Linked DNA regions of Homo sapiens: region 2 is linked to region 1. The links are contacts of gene promoters, found by promoter capture Hi-C in blood cells and fetal thymus (Javierre and others, 2016). All regions are on one chromosome and are shown on one strand. The core of a region is centred on a gene start or on the middle of the fragment in contact, and the rest is flanking DNA. Distances in the headings are between cores, read along the strand shown.

Region 1 (7,505 bases), core at 2,593-5,092:
AACCAATAAACAATGAGCCAAGAACCATCCCCAGACTTCAATTACCTCTGTGCTCACACTTTCAAATCTTTCCAGCTTCATCACTCCTGAGCTACAGACCCACATATCCAGCAGCCTACTGGACCTTCCCTCCAAACCCATGCCTCCCTGTGTTCTCATCTCAGTGAATGGAGCTCCGTTCTGCTTAATCATCCAAACCTAAGGCCAAGTTTTCTCAAATCTACCTCCCAAGTGCTTCTCAAATCTCCTCTACCAGGTCACAGTTCTCTTTAGCCTAGATTACCTCAATAGCGTCAAAACCGGTATCCCTGCCTCCTGTCTCTCCTGCTTCAATCCATTCTCACAGCACCCCACAGTAAGCACTCCAAAGCACAAATGGGACAAAACACTTCACTGGCTCCCTCACTACTCTTAGGATGAAGTCACACTCCCCAAAAAGGCATACAAGGCCCTTTGGGATCTGGCCCTTGCTTACCTTTCTAGTCTTATTTCCTACCCCTTTCCCCCACATCACTACAACTACACTGAACTTCTTAAAGTTCCTCCAAAATACTAGGCTGTCTTACCTGCTTCATGGGCTTTGTGCAGCTATTTCCTCTGCTGGAATAGCATTCCTTTCTTCACTCAGCTAATTTCTACCAGTGATTCAGTTGTTGGCTTAAATATCACCTCTTTTAAAAATGCACCCCTAGACTGAGTTAGGTATCTCACTCTCCCGTGCTGTACCTTACACTTACTCCCATTGAATACTTATCACATTGCCTCTTCAATCTGCATAACTGCATTACTCCTCCACTTGGAGTATTCTACATGCCCAACACCATACCTAGCACTTTACGTGGATTTTCTCATTTAATCTTTAGAGTAATTCTGAGGTAGATACTATTATGACCCCATTCTAAAGAAGGGAAAACTAGTCCAGGCGTGGTGGCTCACGCCTGTAATCCCAACACTGTGGGAGGCTGAGGCAGGTGGATCACCTGAGGTTAGGAGTTTGAGACCAGCCTGGCCAACATGGCGAAACCCCGTCTCTACTAAAAATACAAAAAATTAGCCAGGTGTGGTGGCGTGCGCCTGTAATTCCAGCTACTTGGGAGGCTGAGGCAGGAGAACTGCTTGAACCCGGGAGACGGAGGTTGCAGTGAGCCAAGATTGTGCCATTGCACTCCAGCCTGGGCGACAGAGCAAGACTCTGTCTTAAAAATAAACAAATAAATAAAAAATTTTTTTCAAAAAAGGGAAAACTGAGTCTCAGACTTTTGCAACAAACTTCTGCAAGGGAGTGACAAAGCAGGGATTTGAAATCAACTCTCTCTGGCCTCAAAAACTAAGCTCTTAAGCACTGAAATCCACCAAGCTCGTTCCCCCATAGGACCAAAGGGTGCTTGAATTTTACTACTCCAATACCCAGTCCCTGCTTGGGTACCCTGGACTGGAAGCAGTGGAAAATTACAGGAATTCTGACTCCTAACAATAGGCTGGAATCCTCCAAAGCTATGTAGTGGGTGGAGGGGAGGCAGCACTGACTGAGATGCTTTAAAACAACTCGTTTCCTTTCTTAGAACACCTGAGACCAGGAGGCGGACAAGGGTATGGTAGGAAAAAAAAACAACATTTCTTTTTCTATTCCAGACTCTTCTCTCTGTGCTCCTTTTCAGTATTTCACTCCAGGAATAGCCCAGGCAGCATGGCATCATGAGAGCAGTCACGGCAGCAAGAGCTGCCACCAGACACTGGCATGTACTAGGCACTAGCAACACGCCAGGCTCCCTGCATTTTAACCTCATTTTAGCCCTTTTCACAGGTATTATTTCTCCCTTTATACAGGTGAGGAAGCTGAGGCTCAGAGCCCTTAGTTTGTCCAGGGGTATATAACTATTAAGTAATACAGCTAGAATTCTAGCACAGTTCTCTCTAACCTGTCACTGCTTTTAGGATGCACACCAATTGTCCCTAATGCTTATTAGCATGTAGATTCCTGGGTACAGAACAGGTCTGAAGTGGGACCCAAAAGTGTGCTTTCTTAAACAAGCTCTCAGCTGATTCTGAGGCAGAAGACCAGCCACTGGGAAACAAGGCGCTATGAATGTTTTTTCAGCCTGTGTTCCTCAGAAATACTAGAGTCAAAAAAGTGACCAGACATCTGAAAAGAAAGCCGGGAGGCGGAGTTTCTATGGTTAGATATGTTTAAGAAATACTGCATATTATATTCCTTTCTGGATGATTTACAATGTACATTAGCAAATTAAGGATTCTGAAATAGCTTGTGGTCAATAAACTTATTCAGCTATACTTAAGAGTATTTCCAAAACTTTAGTTAACTACAGAATCCTCCTATATTAACAATATCTATTAAAACCTCCCAAGACTCAGCAAATGGAATGGACTTTAGGAAGCAACTGCTATGCTACACTTCCTAACTCCAGCCCGCACTGGCCTCTCTCTTTCCTACCTCTCTCTAAGGATGCAATAAGAGAAGTCCTAAGCTCTGGTCATGGCCTCACCCTCACTTACTACGTGTGACTTTTGGGAAGCCACTTAACCTCTTTGGGTTTGCTCCTCAGCAGTTAATTAGGGGTAATAATACCTGCATGCCGATAGGGACTTCATGATTAGGATAATGGAGGTCCAAACACTGTGTAACCCGCACAAGACTGCACTCCCTGGAAGGACTGTTACATCTTTTGGCCTGTGACTAAACTCAGTTGAGCACTGTGTAATATACCAATTGATCTTGTTTTCCCACATTTCGTTTATGGATTTCATCTCCTAAATAACTGTGTGATCGCAGCCCTCTGTGGGCTTCATTTCCTCCTCTGTAAAATGAGGGCTCTATTTTGAGGACCCTCCGGGCACTGGCCTTTTAGAAGTCTACTAAAAATCAAAATGCTAAAGGGCAACACATGTTACACCTCACTATGTACCAAACGCTTCGTAAGCATCACCTCCTGACTCTCCACAACAGCTTTATGAGGCAGATCCTATTATTCGGCCCTATTTTACAGGCGGAAACTTGGACTCAGAAAGGCAAAACAGCTTGCTCAAGGGCTCACAACTATTTAGGTGGTAGAGCTAAGATATGAACCTACCTCTGACACCAAAGTGCACTTCAACACCCTACTATCACCCAACAAAGAATTCTGGCCACAGAATCACCTTGCTGCGGTATTCCTGACTGAATCAAGATACGCTGGGGAAGAGGCATCTGAAGATAGCCCGGGTTCTGACCTCGGCCCTGCTGCCTAACTGCCTGGTGACTTCAGGTAAGTTCTGTGTCTTCTCGGGGTTCACTTTTCTACACGCGAAATGGCGGTGTTGAACTAAGTCAGTGGTCAAACCAGCTCACTTGTGGCGCCTGCTACAACCAGAGTTTCCTGATGACTCTGATGCAGTGTGGGGTGGGTCCGGAAGCCTGGATTTTTATCCGACGCCCCAAATGAGATCGGCGGAACCAGAACTCTAAACCTCCGGTCATGGCTGATGCCCCCGCCCAAGGCCCCCATGAGGGCCTTGGGAGGCTGTGGAGCCCAGGCCAGCGCCAGCCTGGACCTGTGGGGTCCAAGGTCCCCAAATCCTCGAGTGAGCGACGTCAAGGGGGCGCGACACGACCTCGCGAATGTGCGGTCCTTCATGACGTGAGCAGGGCGCGACCGACGGTCCCTTTTCGGTTCTCTACAGCGCAAGGCCTCGCTGAAGCGAACCCATCGTGGGAAGGGCGCGGAGAAAGCGGGGAGAAAGAGCAGGGGGACGTCGGGCCTGCGCCTGGCACCGCCGCTACCTGGATTCGCGGGCCCCTCACACACTCACCTGCCGGTAAGGATAGCTGGCCATGGTGATTCTGACGTCACACTCAGGCAAGGGGTGGGGCTTTCCGCTCTCAAACCCGCCCCTCGTCTCGGCTTTGGGGCTGGGCCCGCATCTGATTGGACGTCCGCGCCTGTCAATCTTGGGTGCTGTCGGCCGACGGAAGTGACGATGGGGGCGGTGGGCGGATGCCTACCCGAGAGACCAGGGGAGCTAAGTGATTGATGGAGCTTCCGGAAGTCTTGGCGGCTGTACCAGCGCTAATGTTCCTCCTTTTCCTGAGGTGGAGTGGGCCGAAGAGGTGGTCAGGTTGGGAAATTTAGTGAGAAGCCTGGGTGGGGTGTTGCTGCGGTAGCCATGTTATAACCTGGCAAATGGGACGCATGATAGTGACGTAATTGCTGGAGTAGCTCCTGAGTTTCCGCAGATGAGCCGCGGGAAAGGAGACGAGGGGCGGTGGCCAGGCGGTTGCCCTGACAACGGGGAACCGACCGACTCTTCCCGGTAGGGAGAGGCGATGGCGGAATTACTCCTCTAATGTCAAGGTACTGGGTACCAGTTAGTACCCTTGTAGTGGGATACAGATCTGTGGTCTTTGGAGAAAAAAACCCCAGATCATTAGAGTTGGAGGAAAATTGAATTATCTAGTGCCTCTTTCTTCATAAATGGGGAAACTGAGGTGCAGAGAGGCAGTTGCCTTGCCCTAGCTCACAGTGGGTCGCCTAGAACCGGGGTCAATGGATGTCCAGTTCTCAGCAGGGAGGTCTAGGTCGGTCCCCATCGTAGGTCAAATCCTGGTGACCGAGTGATCTCAGCACCATGTACTTGCCACTCAGTGGTTCCGTTTCTACACTTATTTGTGTGCTTATTTGATTTCTTTGTCAAGTTCTTTCATGTGGGCTAGGGTTTTGTCTGTTTTTGCTTGTCATTATAACTCCAGTACCTAGTATAGCGACTGACACGATTATTAAAATAAATGAATAAATGAATGTTACGAACTGTTATCCAGTCTAGTCCATCTATCTAACCAAGTGCACTTTCCAAAATCACAGTGCTGATCATGCCACTTGCCCACTACACAGCCTACAATGGATGCTCTTCATCCACGCCTACAAAATAAGGCCCAATCTCTTCATTCTGGTACTCCAGGCCCTTCAGAATCTGGCCCAGCCTCAACTTTCCAATCTTACGGCCCCTTCTGCTACTCTGTATTTCTGTGCTCAGTTCCACCATTCAGCACTTCTGCTTTGGAGGGAGGATCTTTGTTTTATCACTTTCTAACTGTATCACCTTAGGCAGGTTTTTTGTTTGTTTGTTTTTAATTTCCAACTTTTAAGATCAGGGGTATATGAGCAGGATGTGGTTTGTTACATAGGTAAATGTGTGCCATGGTGGTTTGTCGCACACATCATCCCATCACCCAAGTGTTAAGCCCAGCATCCATTAGCTATTCTTCCTGATGCTCTCCCTCTTCCCACCTCCCTCTACGCTCCGACAGACCCCAGTGGTGTATGTGCTCTCCTCATTCAGCTCCCACTTATAAGTGGTAACATGCGGTGTTTGGTTTTCTGTTTCTCTGTTAGTTTGCTGAGGATAATGGCTTCCAATTCCATCCACGTCCCTGCAAAGGACATGATCTTGTTCCTTTTTTATGGCTGCATAGTATTCCACAGTGTATATCTACCACATTTTATTTAGGCAAGTTATTTAACCTCTCTAAATTTCACTTTTCTTAGCTGACAGGAACAAATGTGTAAATTTGAAAATGAGCTTATTATACCTGCTCATGCCCCAAACTTAGGTTCAAACCACTCCTTTCACCTGGACCAGCAGCCCTCCCAACTCCAGTCCTGCAAGGCTCAGTTCCAATTCCATTCTCCACCTAACCCTCCCACATTCCCCTTAGCTCCAGAGTTAGCCACTCTCTCTTGCCACTCCCCCTTTGCACTTGGTACTGTCACTGTGTGGTATTCCAGCCTGCCTTGTATAAGAGTTTTCTTTTGGTGTTTTCCCCAAAACCCATTCCTCTCCATCTCAGAAAATCCACCCAGTCTCTCAGGCCAAAAACCTAAGATCATTCCTGTGTGTCCTTTTTTTCTCCACACACTCCCTCACCTCCCTCATCTCCATTTGCTCTAATTCAAACATGTACACATCTGCTCTTTTCTCCCTGTTCGCACTATCACTGTAGTCCAAGACACTATCATCCGTGCCTGGATCACTACAATAGCCGACTGACCAATGTTCCTGCTCTCACTCTTCTCCCCACGCTTCATTTTCTCCACAGGCAGCCAGAGTGGTTATCTTATTCCTTGGCTTCAACTCCCTGGGGACTTCCCATCACTCTTATAATAAAAGCTAAACTCATCCTAATGACATTCATGGCCACACATACCAGCATCTCCAGCCTCATTTCTTGCTGTTGCTGTCCCCCTTGCCTCATTCCAGCCATGCCGGCCTGGTTGTGCCATTCCTGGAATGTACAGAGCTCATTCCTGGATGTTGGCTTTGGCTGGTCTCTGACTGCCTGCTCATTCCTGCCTCCAGGTCTTTGGACTAGCTTTTCCCTCTGTCTGGGATAGTCTTCCCTTGACTTTTCACTGGTTGGCTTCTCCTTATCATCCAGGTCTCAGTTCAGATATCACCTGGGGTGGGGGGAGTTTCTTGACACTGCCCCCCAAGCATTCCCATCATCTATCTTATTTTTTCATAATACATGTCACTAGTTGAATTGTCCACTTTGTTTACATGTATATTGTAGAATTGTCATTTTCTTATGTAGTCCTCTAACCTCAGCACCTAGAATAGTGCCTAGCATGAATTCAATGTTAGTAGTTATTATTATCATGTATTGAGTGCTTACTAGGTGCCAGACGTTGTGCTAAGTACTATGTGTTGTTTAATTTTCACCACAGTCTTTTGAGATAGAGACTATTACCCATTTATAATGAGGAGCTGAGGCTCAGAGAGGTTAAGTGACCTTCCTGTTATCAAAAAGATAAATGGAGCCCAGGCGCAGTGACTCGCGCCTATAATCCCAACACTTTGGGAGGCAGGGAGGAGGACCGCTTAAGCCTAGGAGTTCGAAACCAGCCTGGACAACATAGTGAGACCCTATCGCTACAAAAAATAGTTTTAAAAAATTAGCCAGGCATGGTGGCATGTGTCTGGAGTCCCAGCCACTCCAGAGGCCAAGGTGGGAGGATTGCTTGAGCCCAGGAGGTCAAGGCTGCAATGAGCTGTGTTTGCACCACTGCACTCCAGCCTGGGCAACAGAGAGACTCTGTCTGGGGAAAAAAAAAAAAAAAAAAAAAGATAAATGGAGAAGTAGGACTTGATCCCAGGTCTGCATTTTTTTTAACTACTCAGTATTTAATAGTTAGTAGATTGTGTCTTCTTTACCTTCCTAACCCCCCAGTTCAAAAAATATTGGTGGAATTGAGCTGCAAAACTTCAGAAGGGAAGAAGGTTGAAGGTCAAGTGGGTATTTGCCTGGAGAGAGAACAGTGACAAGCTGGCCTGCAAACTGGAGTCATGTGACACACACTCATTTATTCCACAAACATATGATCCCATTGGGTTCCCACCTCTTGCCAGGCTCTGTTCTAGGTGATGAGAATCCAACTCCTATGAGAATTATTTGCCCCCATTCCCCTATGCCCAGCAAAGGGCTTAGGAGAACTATCTGTGGGAGGTCTGTG
Region 2 (7,069 bases), core at 2,379-4,878, 750 kb after region 1:
AGGAAGACCAGTCAGGAGGCTGCTGCAATAATCCAGGAAAGAAAATAGAAAAATGTGAGTAAGGACAATGCTAGTAAAGATGGAGAGGATGAGACTGGTTCAAGATACAGGAGATGGAAGAAGGTGGATTTGGTGACTGAACAGGTATGTTGACTGAGGGCTAGAAAAGAATCATGGAAGCACCACAGGCTGCTAAAATAGGTGACTGCGTAGATGCAGTACTGCCAGCTAAGTGAGAAAATCCTGGAGGAGGAGCAGTCCTAGAGACAAGGTGGTAACAATGACTTTGGGCACGCAGAACTTGAGATGACTGTGGGCTGTCTAGGATAGCTGTCCAGCAATAGCTATCCTCAAACACTAAAGCTGGCCGGGCATGGTGGCTCATGCCTGTAGTCCCAGCACTTTGGGAGACCAAGGTGGGCAGACTGCTTGAGCCTAGGGGTTTGAGACCAGCCTGGGCAACATGGCGAGATCTCATCTCTACAAAAAATACAAAAATTAGTTGGGCGTGATGGTACACGCCTATAGTCCCAGCTACTTGGGGGCCTGAGGTGGGAGGATTGCTTGAATCCAGGAAGTGGAGGTTGCAGAGAACCATGTTTGCATCACTGCACTTCAGCTTGGGTGACAAAGTGAGAGCCCATCTCAAAACAAAGCAAAACACAACACTAAAGTTCAGGCAAAAGGTCTAAGAGTCGCCCTAACAGGAAAGTGGAGAAGGTGACCCAGGAAGAGTTTGGAAAGTGGACAGAGCAATGGGCTGAGGACAAGTGTCCTCAGACACTACCTGTAGGGGGCAAGCAGAGGAAGAGGAACTCATGAGACAGTTACAAAAGCAACGTCTGGAGAAGTATGTGGAGACTTAAGAATCATGTCACAAATGCCAAGAGAGTAGCGTTTCAAGAGAGGGAGTGATCACTAGCGTCAAATGCAGCAGAATGGTCCAGGAAGATAAGGGCTGAAAACCACCCACTGGATTTGGCAAGCAGTAGGTAAAGCTGACTGAGTAAAGATAAGTTTATAGGTGGTGGCTTTGAGGGTGGGGAGAGAGTTAAAGATCCTGTTTGTTCACCTGAAGTTTCAAAAAGTAGATGAGGTTGTCTCCTGGAAGTGAAAGGGATAAAGCGGCTGAATAGGGGACCCCAGGGAAGAGTTAGGTTTTGGGAAAGTTTCTGAAGTTAAGGGGAGGAGAAGCAAATTGGAGACTGAAGAGTATGTGGGCCCAGATGAGGTTGGGGAATCTGTGATGGAACCAAAAAGCATTTGGTGCCTTTCTCTTTTTAATTTCTTCTTTCTGGTAAGTATGTAGAGCAATGATATGCCTTTCTCTATCAACGTGTATGCACACGTATTTGTGTCAGTCATATTGCCCTTGACAACACACAGGAAGACAGGACAGGAGGAGGTAAGGAGCAGAGGAAAGCAGATGATAGCACCATCTCATAGCTGTGGTCTTCAGGGCAATGTGTTCTAAGGAGTGCTGAGAAGTGAGTGGTCCAGATGGAGCCAGAATGGGACATACAGATAGGAAAGCACCAAAAGACCAAGAAAAAAAATGGAAGGAAAAACGAACTGGGGGTGGTATCTAAGAGGTTTTCCCATCAGCCTCAGCACTTAATAACAGCTAATGCTTATATAGCACTTACTGTATGCTAGGTACTGTTCTTAGTGTTTTACATATATTAACATTTAACCATCACCACAATCTCATCAAGTAGGTATTGTTAGTATTCCCATTTTATAGATGAGGAACTGAGGCCTAGAGAGGTTAAAAACTTGCCCAAGAGGCCAGGCGTGGTGGCTCACACCTGTAATCCTAGCACTTTGGGAGGCCGAGGCAGGCGGATCACCTGAGGTCAGGAGTTTGAGACCAGCCTGGCCAACATGGTGAAACCCTGTCTCTATTGAAAATAGAAAAATTAGCTGGGCGTGGTGGCACATGCCTGTAATCCCAGCTACTCAGGAGGCCGAGGCAGGAGAATCACTTGAACTCAGGAGGCGGAAGTTGCAGAGCTGAGACTGAGCCACTGCACTCCAGCCTGGTAACAGAGCCAGACTTGGTCTCAAAAACAAACAAACAAAAAACAAAAAACACTTGCCCAAGTACATATAAGAGTAAGAAAGTAAAAAAAGGGAAATTACGTCTTTTCTTTCCAAAAAGGCATAAACAACTCCCACCTCCACCCCCACCCCAGCTTTTAACTGGGAATTCCAAGAATGAAGACGGAAGGTTGGCCAACTATCTATTTTTCATAAGTTATGATAAGACCAACCTTGAGACAAACACAGGAGGCCCTCATGCAACATCTGCTGAATGAATGTCAGACTTTCCTGCCAGGAAATTACCCAACAGGAAATATGCTACTATCGGGTCTCTTCTATCAAATGTTAGGGTGCAAGCCTCTCAGTCCTCATCAACAACATAAACAGCTCAGGGCATTCTCAGATTTGCTGGGCTATTGCTGAGAGGCTGTCCAGGAGTACCCAGGATAAGGGAGGAATAAAAACGCTCCCAGATGTCTGGGTGTGGTGGCTCACGCCTATAATCCCAGCACTTTGGGAAGCTGAGGCAGGTGGCTCACCTGAGGTGAGGAGTTCGAGACCAGTCTGGCCAACATGGTGAAACCCTGTCTCTACTAAAAATACAAAAATTAGCCAGGAGTAGTGGCACATGCCTGTAATCCCAGCTACTCGGGAGGCTGAGGCACAAGAATCACTTCAATCTGGGAGGCAGAGGTTGCAGCGAGCTGAGACCGCACCTGTGCACTCCAGCCTAGGTGACAGAGTGAGACTCTGTCTCAAAACAAAACAAAAATACTCCCAGAGTAGAGGACTTATTTAGGTGAGGTCAGAAGCTTCCTGGAGTTGGCCCTGAAGCAGGACTCATCCCAATTGCTTGAGGTAAATAGTAATCAACTTTTCCCACAATTCAGTTGGGCTGATTTTGACAAATAAGCATGAAATGAAACAGGAATACACATTGGCAAATTACCCACTGGCACAGCCAAATATCACTCATCCCACAGAGATTGTTCAGCAAGAAGGCCTTCCACTCTCTGGTGATTAATCTCTCTCTCTCTACTGCCCGTTGCATAGCCCCTACTTAGAACTCATCAGGCACCAGTGTGTATGGCTCATGCTCATCTCTGGCTTGGGTTCTTGCTTTTCATCCTGTCTAGGCAGGGTTGCCCTTGATGAGGTTCCTTCTCCACAGGGGCCTTCCCTGGTGAGTTACTGACTAACCAGAACAGACAAGGTGCCCCTGTACTTTCCTTTCACAGAACTTACCACAACGGTAACTAAACAACTATTTGTTTGGCTACTCGGTTAATGGCTGTCTCTCCACTAGACTGTGAGCTTTGTAAGGCCCAGGATTACATCTGTTTGGCTGAAGTCTGTATCCTCAAGACCTATCAGAGTGCTGGTTGTCGCATATACTCTAATATTTGAATGACTATACGAGTAAGTTTTTTTACTGCTAGAATCTTTTCCTTCAAGACCTGTATCAAATGCTCTCTCTTTCACGAAGAAACTGAATTTCCTGAGCTGGAATAAATTGCTCCTTCCTATGGATTCCTACAAAACGTTCGTTAACTCCAGCCTTTAAAACCATCTTTATTTCACTGTGGCTAGTATCACACTGGTTTGCGTCGAGGTCTGTCTTCCCGTGGACCGGTAGAGGCTAAAAGAAAGGCCCAGGTCAGCCTCATCCTTGAGACTTAGCGCCCGCAAAAGTTGGGCGGGGCTGGTTGGACCAGGTTGCATTGAGGCGGCGCAGGGCCCTGCTGAGGGAAGAAGGGCACGGGCCCGGCTTACCTTCTCTTTGACTGCTTGGTAGCTCTGCTGCAGCCAGCTCCGCCACCATCCCACGTCCTCCCTGTGGAAGACAGACACATCTGGCAGCACCGCGGTGCGATTCCTGCCCGCCCAAGGATCCGGTTTGTTCCCCGCTCAGATGTACCCTGCGGGCCGAGGCTTCGCAGACCGCTTGCCCACCCCCTCACAATGCGACTCCACTCTGCCCTTTCAGATCAGTCCACGCCCCCGCTGATCTCACGTTCCCCACCGGGACTCTCGCCCAGCACCCCAACCCTGGGAGAATTCAGGCCCCAACGCCTAGGAGCAAAACGACAAGCTCACCCTTCCGCCATCTTGCCTGCATGACATCACCACTATTTACTGACCTTTGACTTCCGACACGGCACCGCCCCCTCAAGGACCGCCCCCGAGGCGCTCGGCCCAATCCTCGCGCCGGCACCGCCCTCAGCCCAATCCCCTCCCTGCGCCATCATTAGGTCCCGCCTCCCTGAACTCTATCCAGTCTCTGTCCCGAGTTCGCCCTCAAACTCCGCCCCTGAACTCTCAGTTCAATCGTCATTCAGTCCTGTCCTCAGGCTCCACCAAGCTTGACTCTTTGTCACTGTCCGCAAACGTCGGGTACGGTGGCCTCTATGGACGATGATCAGCCGACAAGCTGGACTGCGGAGAGCTGGGAGCAGAGGGGAGGAGGAGAGATAGCTCGAACGTCAGGATCCCAGAGCGCAGGGTTAGGACCGCCCCCCTTTGTGAAACCAGCTGCGTAGAGGCTGCTTTGTGTCTCTTTGGGCTAATTCAATAAGCCCATATTGCGGGGCTGTGGCCCAGAGTTTGGAGGAATGTGAATAATTCAGAGGCGACTTAGATGCAGCCTTTGGAGGGCTTACGGGTTAATGGGAGACACACACATTCAGTAATCTCAACTTTCGGTGGCCCAGCTCAGAACAACGCCAGGTGGAGGTGGTCTGGAGAAATCCGGAGACCGCCTGGATTGAGTTCTACTGCGATTGGAAGGGAGATTCCACAGCCCACATACTTTGGACTTTAATTAAGGTCAGCCCCTCCACGTGTGCGGTAGATCCCATCGCCTCTTGTTTGCTTAAGGACATAGATCTAGTAATCCCCCCTTCATCTCTTTTCCCTCTGATGACTGCATTTATCCTTGTCATCATCCGTACTGCTGTTTCTCCCATCTCAAAGGCAAACAAAAACCAGCCCTCTCTATATCCCTCACCGTTTCCCTACTCCCCTTTACAGCAAAAGCGTTGCCTACTCACAGTCTGCAACTCCCCTCTCCTCCCATTCTCTCTTGAACTCACTGCAGTTAGGTTTTTGCCTCTCAGACAATCCTTTGAAATAACTTTCTTTTATTTATTTAATTTTATTTAATTTTATTTATTTTATATTTATTTGTAGCTCTGCTGCAGCCAGCTCCGCCACCATCCCACGTCCTCCCTGTGGAAGACGGACACATCTATTTTATTTATTTATTTATTTTTGGTCCTCCCTGTGGAAGACGGAAACATCTATTTTATTTATTTATTTATTTTGAGTCAGAGTCTTGCTCTGTTGCCCGGGCTGGAGTGTAGTGGTGCAATCTCAGCTCGCTGCAACCTCTGCCTCCCGGGTTCAAGCGATTCTCCTGCCTCAGCCTCCCGAGTATCTGGGATTACAGTTGTGCACCACCATGCCCGACTAATTTTTGTATGTTTAGTAGAGATGGGGTTTCACTATGTTGGCCAGGCTTGTCTCGAACTCCTGACTTCAGGTGATCTGCCCTCCTCAGCCTCCCAAAGTGCTGGGATTACAGGCATGAACCACTGCACCCAGCCTGACATAACTTTCTTAAGGTCGCCAAGAGGAATGGCCACTTTTCAGTTCTTGTTTTACATCCGCATCTTATTTGACACAGTTGACCACTTTCTTCATTTGGCTTCCAGGACATCATGCCCTCTTGACTTTCTTCCCCGTTCATTGGCATCTCAGTATTCTTTGCTGTTTTCTCACCGCCTTCTTGTTGCTGGAATGGGATATTCCCTGGGAGAAGGCTCAGCCCTTGGTGTCCTCCTCCTTTTTGATGTTTATAGTCATTCCCCAGATATTCTCATAAAGTCTCATGATTTTATTTATTATTATTTTTTAAGATGGAGTCTCACTCTATTGCCCAGGCTGGAGTGCAGTGGCATGATCTTGGCTCACTGCAACCTCTGCCTCCTGGGTTCAAATGACTCTCCTGCCTCAGCGTCCAGAATAGCTGGGATTACAGGCACCCACCACCACACCCAGCTAATTTTGTATTTTTAGTAGAGATGGGGTTTCACCATGTTGGCCGGGCTGGTCTTGAACTCCTGGCCTCAGGTGATCCACCCACCTCGGCCTCTGAAAGTGCTGGGAGTACAGGCGTGAGCCACTGCTCCTGGCCCATTTTATTTTATTTTTAAGACAGGATCTTACTCTGTCGCCATATTAGTCCATTTTCACACTGCTAATAAAGACATACCTGAGACTGGGCAATTTACAAAAGAAAGAGTTTTACTGGACTCACAGTTCCACATGGCCAGGGAGACCTCACAATGATGGAGGAAGGTGAAAGGCACATCTCACATGGTGGCAGACAAGAGAAGAGAGCTTGTGCAGGGAAACTCCCGATTTTAAAACCATCAGATCTCATGAGAACCATTCACTATTATGAGAAAAGCACGGGAAAAACCCGCCCCCACCATGATTCAGTCATCTCTCACCAGGTCCCTTCTACAACACGTGGGAATTATGGAGCTACAAGATGAGATTTGGGTGGGAACACAGAGCCAAACCATATCAGTTGCCCAGGCTGGAGTGCAGTGGCACGATCATGGCTCACTGCAGCCTTGACTTCCTGAACTCAAGCAATCCTCCTGCCTCAGTCTCCTGAGTAGCTGGGACTACAGGCATGCACCATCAAGCCCAGCTATTATTATTTTTTTAAATAGAGATGAGGTCTCCCTGTGTTGCCTTACTTTTAATTTTTCTTTAGCAGTGCTTCACTATGTTGCCCAGGCTGGTCTCAAACTCCTGGCCTCTAGTGATCCACCCACCTTGGCTTCCCAAAGTGCTGAGATTACAGGTGTGAGCCATCTCACTAATCTCATACTTTTAAATGCCATGTATATGCTGATGGCTCTCAAATTTCCTCTCCAACCCATACATTTTCTCTGAACATCAGGTTCATTTTGTCTATTTGCATGTGTAATAGGTGTATTATTTTTAACATGTC

The links. The method cuts DNA at HindIII sites, captures the fragments that hold promoters and counts their contacts. A CHiCAGO score of 5 or more calls a contact.
Region 2: a contact is called between a fragment that was not itself captured here and the fragment with the promoter of PEF1 in region 1, in 4 of 17 cell types (fetal thymus, naive CD4 T cells, activated CD4 T cells and 1 more). The highest score is 8.5, in fetal thymus.

Annotation. Positions count from the first base shown.
Region 1 is chr1:31,641,034-31,648,538 of GRCh38, forward strand. It overlaps PEF1 (penta-EF-hand domain containing 1), which reads right to left and starts at 3,843. Exons shown (of 5, transcript NM_012392.4): 1 at 3,808-3,843. The coding sequence starts at 3,831. It overlaps PEF1-AS1 (PEF1 and COL16A1 antisense RNA 1), which reads left to right and starts at 3,103. Exons shown (of 6, transcript NR_184313.1): 1 at 3,103-3,263; 2 at 3,679-3,813. RefSeq lists enhancers at 3,573-4,343, 3,663-3,732, 3,973-4,312. The HindIII fragment of the contact is 8,144 bases long and covers 1-7,505 here.
Region 2 is chr1:32,390,264-32,397,332 of GRCh38, forward strand. BSDC1 (BSD domain containing 1) reads right to left here and starts at 4,178. Exons shown (of 11, transcript NM_018045.8): 1 at 4,141-4,178; 2 at 3,817-3,877. The coding sequence starts at 4,151. RefSeq lists enhancers at 3,219-3,916, 3,904-4,193, 3,917-4,612, 4,484-4,563, 5,311-6,006. The HindIII fragment of the contact is 1,550 bases long and covers 2,854-4,403 here.